2 separate regions of the Homo sapiens genome follow, and region 2 is linked to region 1. Evidence: promoter capture Hi-C in human tissues and cell types (Jung and others, 2019). All regions are on one chromosome and are shown on one strand. The core of a region is centred on a gene start or on the middle of the fragment in contact, and the rest is flanking DNA. Distances in the headings are between cores, read along the strand shown. Region 1 holds the start of FBLN1 (fibulin 1). Region 2 overlaps SMC1B (structural maintenance of chromosomes 1B).

The links. The method cuts DNA at HindIII sites, captures the fragments that hold promoters and counts their contacts. A contact is called where the count stands out against the background at its distance.
Region 2: a contact is called between a fragment that was not itself captured here and the fragment with the promoter of FBLN1 in region 1, in 4 of the 25 tissues and cell types used here (IMR-90 fibroblasts, dorsolateral prefrontal cortex, stomach and 1 more).

The regions. Positions count from the first base shown.
Region 1 is chr22:45,500,944-45,506,083 of GRCh38, forward strand. FBLN1 (fibulin 1) reads left to right here and starts at 1,940. Exons shown (of 17, transcript NM_006486.3): 1 at 1,940-2,121. The coding sequence starts at 2,043. It overlaps LOC105373066 (a long non-coding RNA gene), which reads right to left and starts at 44. Exons shown (of 3, transcript XR_938305.2): 1 at 1-44. RefSeq lists enhancers at 2,554-3,167, 3,168-3,781, 3,782-4,395, 4,396-5,009, 5,010-5,140. The HindIII fragment of the contact is 10,534 bases long and covers 1-5,140 here.
Region 2 is chr22:45,392,048-45,397,187 of GRCh38, forward strand. It overlaps SMC1B (structural maintenance of chromosomes 1B), which reads right to left. Exons shown (of 25, transcript NM_148674.5): 7 at 4,299-4,439; 8 at 2,638-2,720; 9 at 1,587-1,794. Among named protein-coding and RNA genes, the nearest start is that of SMC1B, 19 kb to the right of the region's middle. The HindIII fragment of the contact is 3,124 bases long and covers 1,453-4,576 here.

The DNA.
Region 1 (5,140 bases), core at 690-3,189:
CTTTTGTTTTTCATTTTAAAATTTAACATGTGACCGGGCACGGTGACTCACGCCTGTAATCTCAGCACTTTGGGAGGACAAGGCGGGTGGATCACCTGATGTCGGGAGTTCAAGACCAGCCTGACCAACACGGAGAAACCCCGTCTCTACTAAAAATACAAAATTTGCCAGGCGTGGTGGTGCATGCCTGTAGTCCCAGCTACTCAGGAGGCTGAGGCAGGAGAATCGCTTGAACCCGGGAGGTGGAGGTTGCAGTGGGCTGAGATTGCGCCACTGCACTCCAGCCTGGGCAACAAAAGCAAAACACCATCTCAAAAAAACAGAAAGAAACAACATGTATTCAGAAAAGGGCACGTACCATAAATGAACAGCTCAATAAATTCTCACAAACTGAGCCCAACCTTGTAACCAATACCCAGAGTAAGAAAGCTGAACCTAACCAGCCCCCGAAAGCCCAGCACGCTCCCACTCCAGGATCACCACTCTCCTGACCTCTGAACTGTTCTTGCCTTTTTTTTTTTTTTTTTTTTTTTTTGAGACGGAGTCTCACTCCGCCGCCCAGGCTGGAGTGCAGTGGTGAGATCTCGGCTCACTGCAACCTCCGTCTCCCGGGTTCAGGCGATTCTCCTGCCTCAGCCTCCCGAGTAGCTGGGACTACAGGTGTGCACCACCATGCCTGGCTAATTTATTTTTATTTTTATTTTTAGTAGAGACAGGGTTTCACCATGTTGGCCAGGCTGGTTTCGAACTCCTGACCTCAGGCAATCCGCCCACTTCATCCTCCCAAAGTGCTGGGATTACAGGTGTGAGCCACCGCCACCGGCCTGTTCTTGCCTTTTATGTAAATGGAATCATGCAGCGAGTGTTCCTTTGTGGCTGACTCTATTACTCTGACTTACGTCTGTGAGATTTACCCGTTATGTGAGTTGCGGATCATTCACTCCTGTTCCGTTTGTCGTGCTCCTAAGCCCGAATACTCCACGATATTCATCTGCCTTGATGACGCTAGGCTTCCCAATTGGAGGAATTATGAATGTGCGGCTACATGTCTTTCTGTCTTTTGGAGCACATGTTGTATGCGTTTCTGCTGAGTGTAAGGCTGGGCGGGGCGTCGGTGGCTCAAGGGGTCCATGGTGAACTCACAGGAACACCGCTTTGAGCTGCCCAGTGGCGTTCCTATGCGTCTCATCCAGTTCCTCCGCATCTTCACCTGCACCATTTTATTCTTCTTCTTTGGAAAATAAATCTACTTGTGGTTCCAAAGCCTAACTCATCCTCAGTAACCCCGGTAGCTATGAATTCCTATACAAGAGGCTCCCGCAGGCCCAGCGCCAAAGCTGCCTCCCCTGCAGCCTCGGTGACTTCCCGGGTCTCTCCCTCCGGCCCTGGTGTCCCGGGTGAGCCCAGCACACGTTGGGATTTTGGTTGTTTGTTGGCCTGGCCCGACTGTCCCTGTCTCTGAGGGCAGAGTCGGGTCCCATCCCGGGACACGCCTGGGGTTAGCCACCGACCTGCAGCCTCCCGGCCGAGGGTGCGGGGTTGGCGGTAAGGCCTGCCCCAGTGCCCCCCAGCAGCCGGGCCTCCGACTGCAGGCCCGGGTCCCCGCTCCTCCGCGCGGAGTCGGGCGGGGATAACCTTTGATCCCGAGCCCTCCCCTCGAGAGGGGGTGGGGGGAGGAGGGGATCGGGTTTCACGGAGTGTTGGGGGATAGGACTGGGGGCATCCGGCCCGAAGGCGCCCCCTCTGTGCCCCCTCCGGGGAAGTCTGGGATCCAGGCCCTCGCCCCCAGCCGTGGGCGCGCGCCCCTCGCAGCCGGGGTCCGGGGAGGGAGGGTCCCGGCAGGGGGCGCCGGGGAGGGAGGACCAGGAGACCCGCGGCCCCGCCTCCGCCGCGCCCTCCTCCCGGGCGGGATAATTGAACGGCGCGGCCCTGGCCCAGCGTTGGCTGCCGAGGCTCGGCCGGAGCGTGGAGCCCGCGCCGCTGCCCCAGGACCGCGCCCGCGCCTTTGTCCGCCGCCGCCCACCGCCCGTCGCCCGCCGCCCATGGAGCGCGCCGCGCCGTCGCGCCGGGTCCCGCTTCCGCTGCTGCTGCTCGGCGGCCTTGCGCTGCTGGCGGCCGGAGGTAGGGGCGTCCCGGGTCCGCCGCCCCAGCTTAGGGTCCCGACCCCCTCGGCCTCGCGCTCCCTGCGAGTTTCGGAACCACGGGGACTCGGAGTCCGTGCGTTGCCCTGCGCGGCGCCCCCGGACTGTCAGCGCCGAGGCCTCGGCGACGCCCCCCTCCCCCACGGCCAGCTCCGGTCCTCATCTCCTCCCCGGCCTGGGGACTTGTTTCAAAACCGGATTCCCCCACCCCTCAAACACACCGTCCTACCCCAGTCCTAGCAAATCCAGCCGGCTCCGGGGGCCGCATCCCGGGCCCTGGGGGTTCAGGGGCGCTAGCTGGGCTGGGGGACGCTGGCTGGGGGTTACCGAGCCCAGGGCGCCTTGCACTTGACGCTGGAAGCGCCCTCGGCTATCTTTCCTCACCGCTTCCCGCCTCCACCCCCAGGTAGGAGCTGTTGTACCCAGCTTGCGGATGTGAAACTTGAGCCTGGAGGGTGGGAAGCAGTCTTTTCCCCAGGAGACACTAGCGGTCCTGGGATAGGGGCTGGAGAGGAAGAAATGAGAAAGCCAGGGAGCAGCCTGGAGGTTTTTGGGGCGTAGCTGGGAGGATGGAGGGGATGCGGACCTGGCCACCTCCTCCCTGCCTCCCTCCCGGGACAGAGGGCCCAAGGCAGTGGTTCTGCCGGGCTCGGTGCTCAGCGGGGACTGGGGACTGGTCACTTCCACCAACGGCAAGGGGGATGGAGTTTTCCAAGAGCAGATCTGATCGATGGCCCAGACCTTAGGCCCCAACTCTGGGACTGACAGCTCCGGGACAGTGCCCACCCAGCCCGCGCTTTTCTCCCCTCTAACCCTCAAGGCCTGGTCCCTGGGGGGACTGCCACGAGGTCCTCTGATCAGAGCAGCTGCTGGGCGGCAGAGCTATGACCTGTGACCTCTCTGCTGACCCGTGGCTTCTCAGAGCCACTAGCCAGGCCCGGCACTCCTGGCGTCTTTGTTTCTCCAGTGGCCCAGGTCCAGGGGAGTGCCCTAGACCACCCTCAGAATCCGAGTCTTAATCCCTGGTTTAGTTGAGTTCCTTTTAACCTCTGGTGACCGCCTTTGTTAGTCAAAAGGTCGCTTGTCCCAACTAATGCTCACTGGGGGATTCCAGGAAGGGGGCTGAAGGGGGCTGGAGGGGGAGGGGAGGCTGGGAGCTGAGCTCTACAGAGCTTTCTTGACTGGCTGGCTGCAGCAGAGCCCTGTGGAGCTCTGATTGTTCAGGCGGTGCTGGGCACGGCCTGGGCACCTCGTGGGGTTGGAGATGGTGTGGGGAGGCGCAGAGCTCAGTGTTGGCACCAGGAGCCTTCGCAGCCCCTGGGGGCTCCCTGGAGGCTCTTTAGAAGAGATGGAGCTTGATGTAAGGGGAGCGCGGGAAGAGGGCATTCCAGCAAGCAGCAGGCCGGGTGGCTGCCAGCTGGAGGGAAAACCCCGAGGGGCCCTGGGTGATGGGTGGGTGGGACATCCGAGACTCCTGTTAGAAAAGGAAGGAGCCTCAGAGGCCCCGATTGTGTCGATGAGGAAGCTGAGGGCCTGAGAGAAGGCGTGGTAAAACTCTCCCTGGCCCCGGAGTCTCTGCGTTCCCTCTCACTGTTCTTTTCTGTCTGCGGTTTGCGAACAATTTCTCCCTATGTGTGTGTGACTGAATGAACACCCCAGGACTTGCGGGCCCAGTGTGGCTCACTGCTGAGCCACAGAGAAGTTTGTAATTGGAAGGGTTTAAAAAAGCCTCCTAATTGCACACTTCGATAAAAGCAGCTGGATGTCCTGTGGGCCTTTTGTTTCTTTTGGGGAGAAGTCTCTTTGAGTTTCAACAGGTTTAATTTGGTACAGTTTGGGAAGGGGCTTTTGAAGACTGCCTGGCCCCTATCTGCAGCTGTGAGGCCCCCGAAGCCCTGTATGTAAGGCCACAAGTGGCACCGCCCCTGCTCTCAGAGAGCTGTGGGGCCGCAGATGGTGAGCCTGTTAGCTGATCTGCAGAAACTCCTTTGGCGACGGCCGCTTAAATGGAGAAGGGCGCTGATCTTTCTTGCCAAACGGCCGAGAGGAGCCGCCTGTCTGTCCTGTGTCTGTCCGTCCCGTTGGGCTTTACTGAGAGCTGGGTGGGAGGGAGTGGAGAGGAGGAGGTGTTAGGAAAAGACGATTGTGTTTTCTCCAAGGCTTTCTTGGCCTCTGGCTGCAGCCGGGCAGCGTTTCCGACTGATTAAAAGAAAGTTGGGAGGGAGAACAAAGGCCAGGGAGGACTTGGCTTGAAAACGTGTGGTCTGTGCCGCCACTCCTGGAAGTTTCCCAGTCAGGAGGTGGGGGCCAGGGCACTGAATGCATGAAGATGAGACTCTGTGCCATGGGGGTCAGGGCTGGGGCCTCTCCTGCAGCACCCACAGCTCTGGCTCACGCCCCGCTCCTGGCCCTGCTGAGTGCCCCCCAACTCAGGGCTGCATTTGCCACCCCTGTTAGGTGTGTAGGGCAGGAGTAGGGGCACGCGGCTGACTCATCTTCAGGTCCTGGAGGGCTCCACGGGCCTTGTGAGACTAGAAATCAGTTTGCATCAGAAAAAGCCATGAGATGGTTTGGTGGTTTTCTCATTTATAAAATGAAGGGAACAAAAACCTACTTAGGTTGTCTTGAGGATTAAGAGAGAGAACATAGGATAGTGTCTACCATGGCAGCTATATTATTATTATTATTATTTTATTTTATTTTTGAGACGGAGTTTCGCTCTTGTCGCCCAGGCTGGAGTGCAATGGCATGATCTCGACTCACTGCAACCTCCGCCTCCCGAGTTGAAGCGATTCTCCTGCTTCAGCCTCCCCAGCAGCTGGGATTGCAGGCGCCCATCACGCCCAGCTAATTTTTGTACTTTTAGTAGAGATGGGGTTTCACCATCTTGGCCAGGCTAGTCTCGAACTCCTGACCTCAGGTGATCCACCTACCTCGGCCTCCCAAAGTGCTGGAATTACAGGTGTGAGCCACCGTGCCGGCTGGCAGCCCTGTTATTA
Region 2 (5,140 bases), core at 1,765-4,264, 110 kb before region 1:
GCAATTCTCCTGCCTCAGCCTCCCAAGTAGCTGGGATTATAGGCATGCACCACCACGCCCAGCTAAATTTTTTGTATTTTTAGTAGAGACAGTGTTTCACCGTGTTGGCCAGGCTGGTCTCAAACTCCTGACCTCAAGTGATCCATCCACTTCGGCCTCCCAAAGCGCTGGGATTACAGGCACCCAGTTCACCAGTTTTTAAATCTCTCTCCAGTTAGAAGAGGAAAAGGAAACACATACATGTGAGTTTGCTTCTTGCTAGATCAAGGAATACTAGGTGAGAATTCTCAGGAATTAGTCAATTTATCAGTTCAGCTTCTGTGGAGTTGAGAAAAAGCAATGCTATACTTCAATACTTTTTTTTTTTTTTAAATCCTAGATTATCACCATTTTCTAAAGTTTATGGCATCAGGTCGATTTTTTTTTTAACTAGTTGTGTGTGTGTGTGTGTGTTTCACTAGTTTTTGTCACTTGGATAGGAATTGGGGGATCTAGATTTTGTGACCTAGATTTACTCCTCCATCATTATCCAGAAGTCGAAACCAACATTTAGGAGTCAGAAAGTCAAAACAGATGCTATAAAGGAGATGAAGATGGGTGGCCAGAGACATAGGAGGAAAACCATGAAAGTGTGGATATGGAGGCCAATGGTAGATGTTTCCTTTTTTTTGGAGACAGAGTCTCACTCTGTGGCCTAGGCTGGAGTGCAATGGTGTGATCTCAGCTCACTGCAAACTCTGCCTCCCGGGTTCAAGCGATTCTCCTACCTCACCCTCCTGAGGAGCTGGTATTATAGGCGCCTGCCACAATGTGCGGCTACTTTTTGCATTTTTAGTAGAGACAGGGTTTCACCATGTTGGCCAGGCTGGTCTCAAACTCCTGACCTCAGGTGATCCACCAGCCTCAGCCCCCTAGAGTGCTAGGATTATAGACGTGAGACACTGCCCTGGCCGGTAGGTGTTTCAAAACAGAGCAGTGGTTACCAGTCTCAAATGCTGAAAACAGGCCATATCATAAAATAAGGACTGCACAGTATACACTGATGTTAGGGACAAGAGGATCAGATGCCACCCCGATACAAAAGGAAATAATCTTGTGATGCTGGCACCCCAAGCAACAAGTGATACTGTATTTTGGCTAATGAAATACACTAGCAATACCAGATGCACAGTCATACTTACAGAATAAAAATATGCCAATGATGTCTGCTGAAAAAATATTTCAAAAACAAATAAAACCATGAAAAACATGAGGTTTGAGGCTATGTGTCTGGGTGGCTCAGAGTACTTCACAGCATCCAGGTCCTTTTGGGGATACTGGCCACAATTTGAACTTTCTGGGTACTATGTTCATGTCAAGCTTCTCCCCAATAATTACGTTATCTACAGCTACTACTGGAAGTTTTACCCTAATTAGTTACTGTCACATTTTAAATATAAAGAGTCAAACACAAAACTTAAAGATGTCTGAAATAATATTGCTTTGTAATAATGGTAATATTTCTAATCCCAAATGAGAAGATACTGTTGAAAGCAAACAGGAAAGCTTAGTTTTTTTTGTTTAAATTAACTATTCATTCTCATTACCACAGAATCTGGGTACAGTCTTTTAAGGTGTTCCAGAACCTCTGCTCTCTTTTGCTGACGTTTTCCCTCATGGGTATCAATCCCAGCATTCTGCAATTCACTTCTAATAAGATTCAATTCTTCATTAACTTCAGACATTCTTGATTTTGTTTTTTCAATTTCATCCACTAGGGTTTCCTCTTGCTGTTTTTTCTCTTTCAAGCAATCCCTACAAAATAACAACAAATTATACAGCAAAATGATAAACCAAAATTTAGGAATTACCAGGTACAACATACTCCTGTCTGGCATTGCAGGGGAATAGAGCAGTGCTCTATCAATTTTTAAAGGGTAAAAAATGCAATAAACCTGACACCAAACATGGGCAAAAAAGATTTTGCTCATTCTTTGTTGATTTGAAAAATGTGGCTGGGCCAGGTGGCTCACTCCTGTAATCCCAGTACTTTGAGAGGTTGAGTGGGTGGCTGGCTTGAGTCTAGGAATTTGAGACCAGCCTGGCAACATGGCAAAAACCTGTCTCTACAAAATACAAAAAAAAAAAATTAGCCAGGTGTGGTGGCACACACCTGTAGTACCAGCTATTCAGGGGGCTGAGGTAGGTGGATCACTTGAGCCCAGTGGGTGCAGGCTGCAGTAAGCCATGATCACGCAACTGCACTCCAGTCTGGGTGAGAGTGAGACCCTGTCTCAAAAAAAAAGGAAGAAATACATAAATAAGAAAGCTGCAAGGGGTGCGATGGCTCACACCTGTAATCCCAGCACTTTGGGAGTCCGAGGAGGGTGGATTGCTTGGTCCAGGAGTTCAAGATCAGCCTGGGCAACATGGTGAAACCCCATCTTTACCAGAAATAGAAAAAATTAGCTGGGTGTGGTGGCATGTGCCTGTAGTCTCAGCTACAGGCTGAGGTAGGAGCGTCATGTGAGCCCCGGAAGTTGAGGCTACCGTAAGCCATGACTGCGCCACTGCACTCTGGCCTGGGCGATGGGAGTGAGACCCTCTCTCAAAAAATAAAAGAAAATTGCTGCAAGAAATTTTTTTTACTCTACCTACATGCATGTCTTTGTATACTCCTCTAACTTCTCTATTCGTTTTTTATGATCTTCTATTTGTTCTTTTATTTGTTTTAGATTTCCCTAAAAGAGGAAATAAAATCTAAAATCAATTACGGCAATTCCAAACCAACAAAATTACATGCCTAGAACTTACTATAATATTATAAGCTGTTATAAAATTGAAAGATATCAAATATAATTATATGAAAACACTTATCAGAGCAAATTACAGATCAGGGTTCAACTCCTGAATCTTTACCATTTGCTAGATATTTGATCTCTAGCGATTTCTCTCTGTAACTTCAAACTTCAAGGAGATTATTTTCAAATATCTATATAGTTCTTACCCCTTAACTAATGTACTGAACAAATATATTAGGTTGGTACAAAAGTACTGCAATTACTTTTGCAACAATCTAAATATATTCACTGGCTACCATGTGATAGGAACTAGAGGTACAGAAATAAGCAGGAAAGAGTCCCTGCCCTCAAAGAACTAATGTCTGGTAGGAGAGACAGATAATTAAATAAGTAATTATAGTAGAGTGGTTTTGTGTTATAATAATATAGGCACCTGTAGGGCAACTAATAGCCTTGTGGATGAGGATTTCGGGAAAGTTTTGTTCTATTCACTTTATCATTAAATCCAACTGGAGACTACCACAAGTCTTCTCCATCTGTCTGCAACTACATGTGTTCTTCTTGTTTTTTTGTATTCAAAAGACAACAGCAATTCAACCAACACTTATTGACATCTACTAAGTGCAAGGTTTACAATGGACACAATTAGAATCCTGCCTTTAATAAGCTTCCAGTCCAGTAGAGAGGTACCAATTAATTTTAATTTTTATGCGATCTGACAAAAGCCCTTAGATATAGATAAAAAATTGACTGGGCACGGTGGCTCAGGCCTGTAATCCCAGCACTTTGCAAGGCTGAGGAGGATGGATCACCTGAGGTCAGGAGTTCAAGACCAGCCTGACCAACATGGAGAAACCCTGTCTCTACTAAAAATACAAAATTAGCCAAGCATGGTGGCGCATGCCTGTAATCCCAACTACTCAGGAGGCTGAGACAGGAGAATTGCCTGAACCTGGGAGGCGGAGGTTGTAGTGAACCGAGATCGCGTCATTGCACTCTAGTCTGGGCAACAAGACCGAAACTCCGTATCAAATAATAATAGGTAGTTATATGAGGAAGAAATTATTTTTGGCTTTTTTAGGAGCTGGGATATAAAGAAAAGGAGGGCCAGGGAAGGCTTTGCGGTGTTGGTAACTCTAGATTTTAACATGTAAAGATGAATAGGTTATTCCAAAAAGAAACTAGCATGTACAAAGGCAAAAATGTCCAATGTGTATTTTCATAAATCAGTGTATAATTTTATAACATATCAATTACACAATTATACAAATGTTTTAAAAGTAATTCCTGCTATGTTACCACCTTTGTTTTTCTCCTTGCACAAAATGCCTCTTCTACTCACAGAACTATCACAGATTATGGCTATTATATTTGTATCTTCATCTGCCAAATCATGAAATAAATGAAATGAGACAGTATAGTGTAAGGTTAAGGAGATTCATTCTGGAGACAGGTACAAAAAGGAAATAAAATTTCATTAAGAATGATTCTAAATCATTACTGTACAACCCAAGACACCTGAACTTCTCCATGCCTCCTCTTTTCAAATGCCAGTCTTTCTTCATCTGTCTTCTGTTCCCACTGCAGTTTTTCCAGTTGTTGAGTCATTGTAGCTACTTTCTTTCTTACTTGTTCCTTAAGTTCTTTATAACGATCCAGCTGCATAAACAGTATTGAAAAATTGCTAATTCACCTTAAGAAGCATGAGAGCAAATTTCTTTGTATGAAATCCTGTACTAGAAGATAATTAATCTTCCCAAAAGCTTGCTTTATATAAATTAAATCATAATCGACCACCTTCCCCCGGTAAAATAATGTGAGCATGAAAGCTTCCTTTAAAAAAACTGTTTATTATTTATTTATTTATTTATATTTGAAACTTATTTATTTATTTATTTTTATTTTGCCCAGGCTGGAGTACAGTGGCACAATCACGGCTCACTGCAGCTTTGGCCTCCTGGGCTCAAGTGTTTATCTTATTATTCATAAGGTAATCATTTTTTCCTCTCATAAACACTTAAAGATACATGTGGCTTTGAGGAGACATGATCACTTAATTGACAAGAAGGAAACTGATTACTTAAGGTGCTTTAAAATGTTCAGTGATGAATTAATCTCTAACTTATTATACAAGATTTAATTATAATAAATCACTAGATGGCAAAAACATGTAATCGACAAACAACCACATTTTTATCGTTTATCTCTTTTATCAATTTTATGATAATCTTATATCACAAATATACCAAATACCAAAACAATTATGACTATATATACCAAAATAATTATAACTATATAAGTAGAAAAAAATATATCATTTTCTCTGGATTCTCCTTTCTCTTTTAAGATTTTTGGACAGA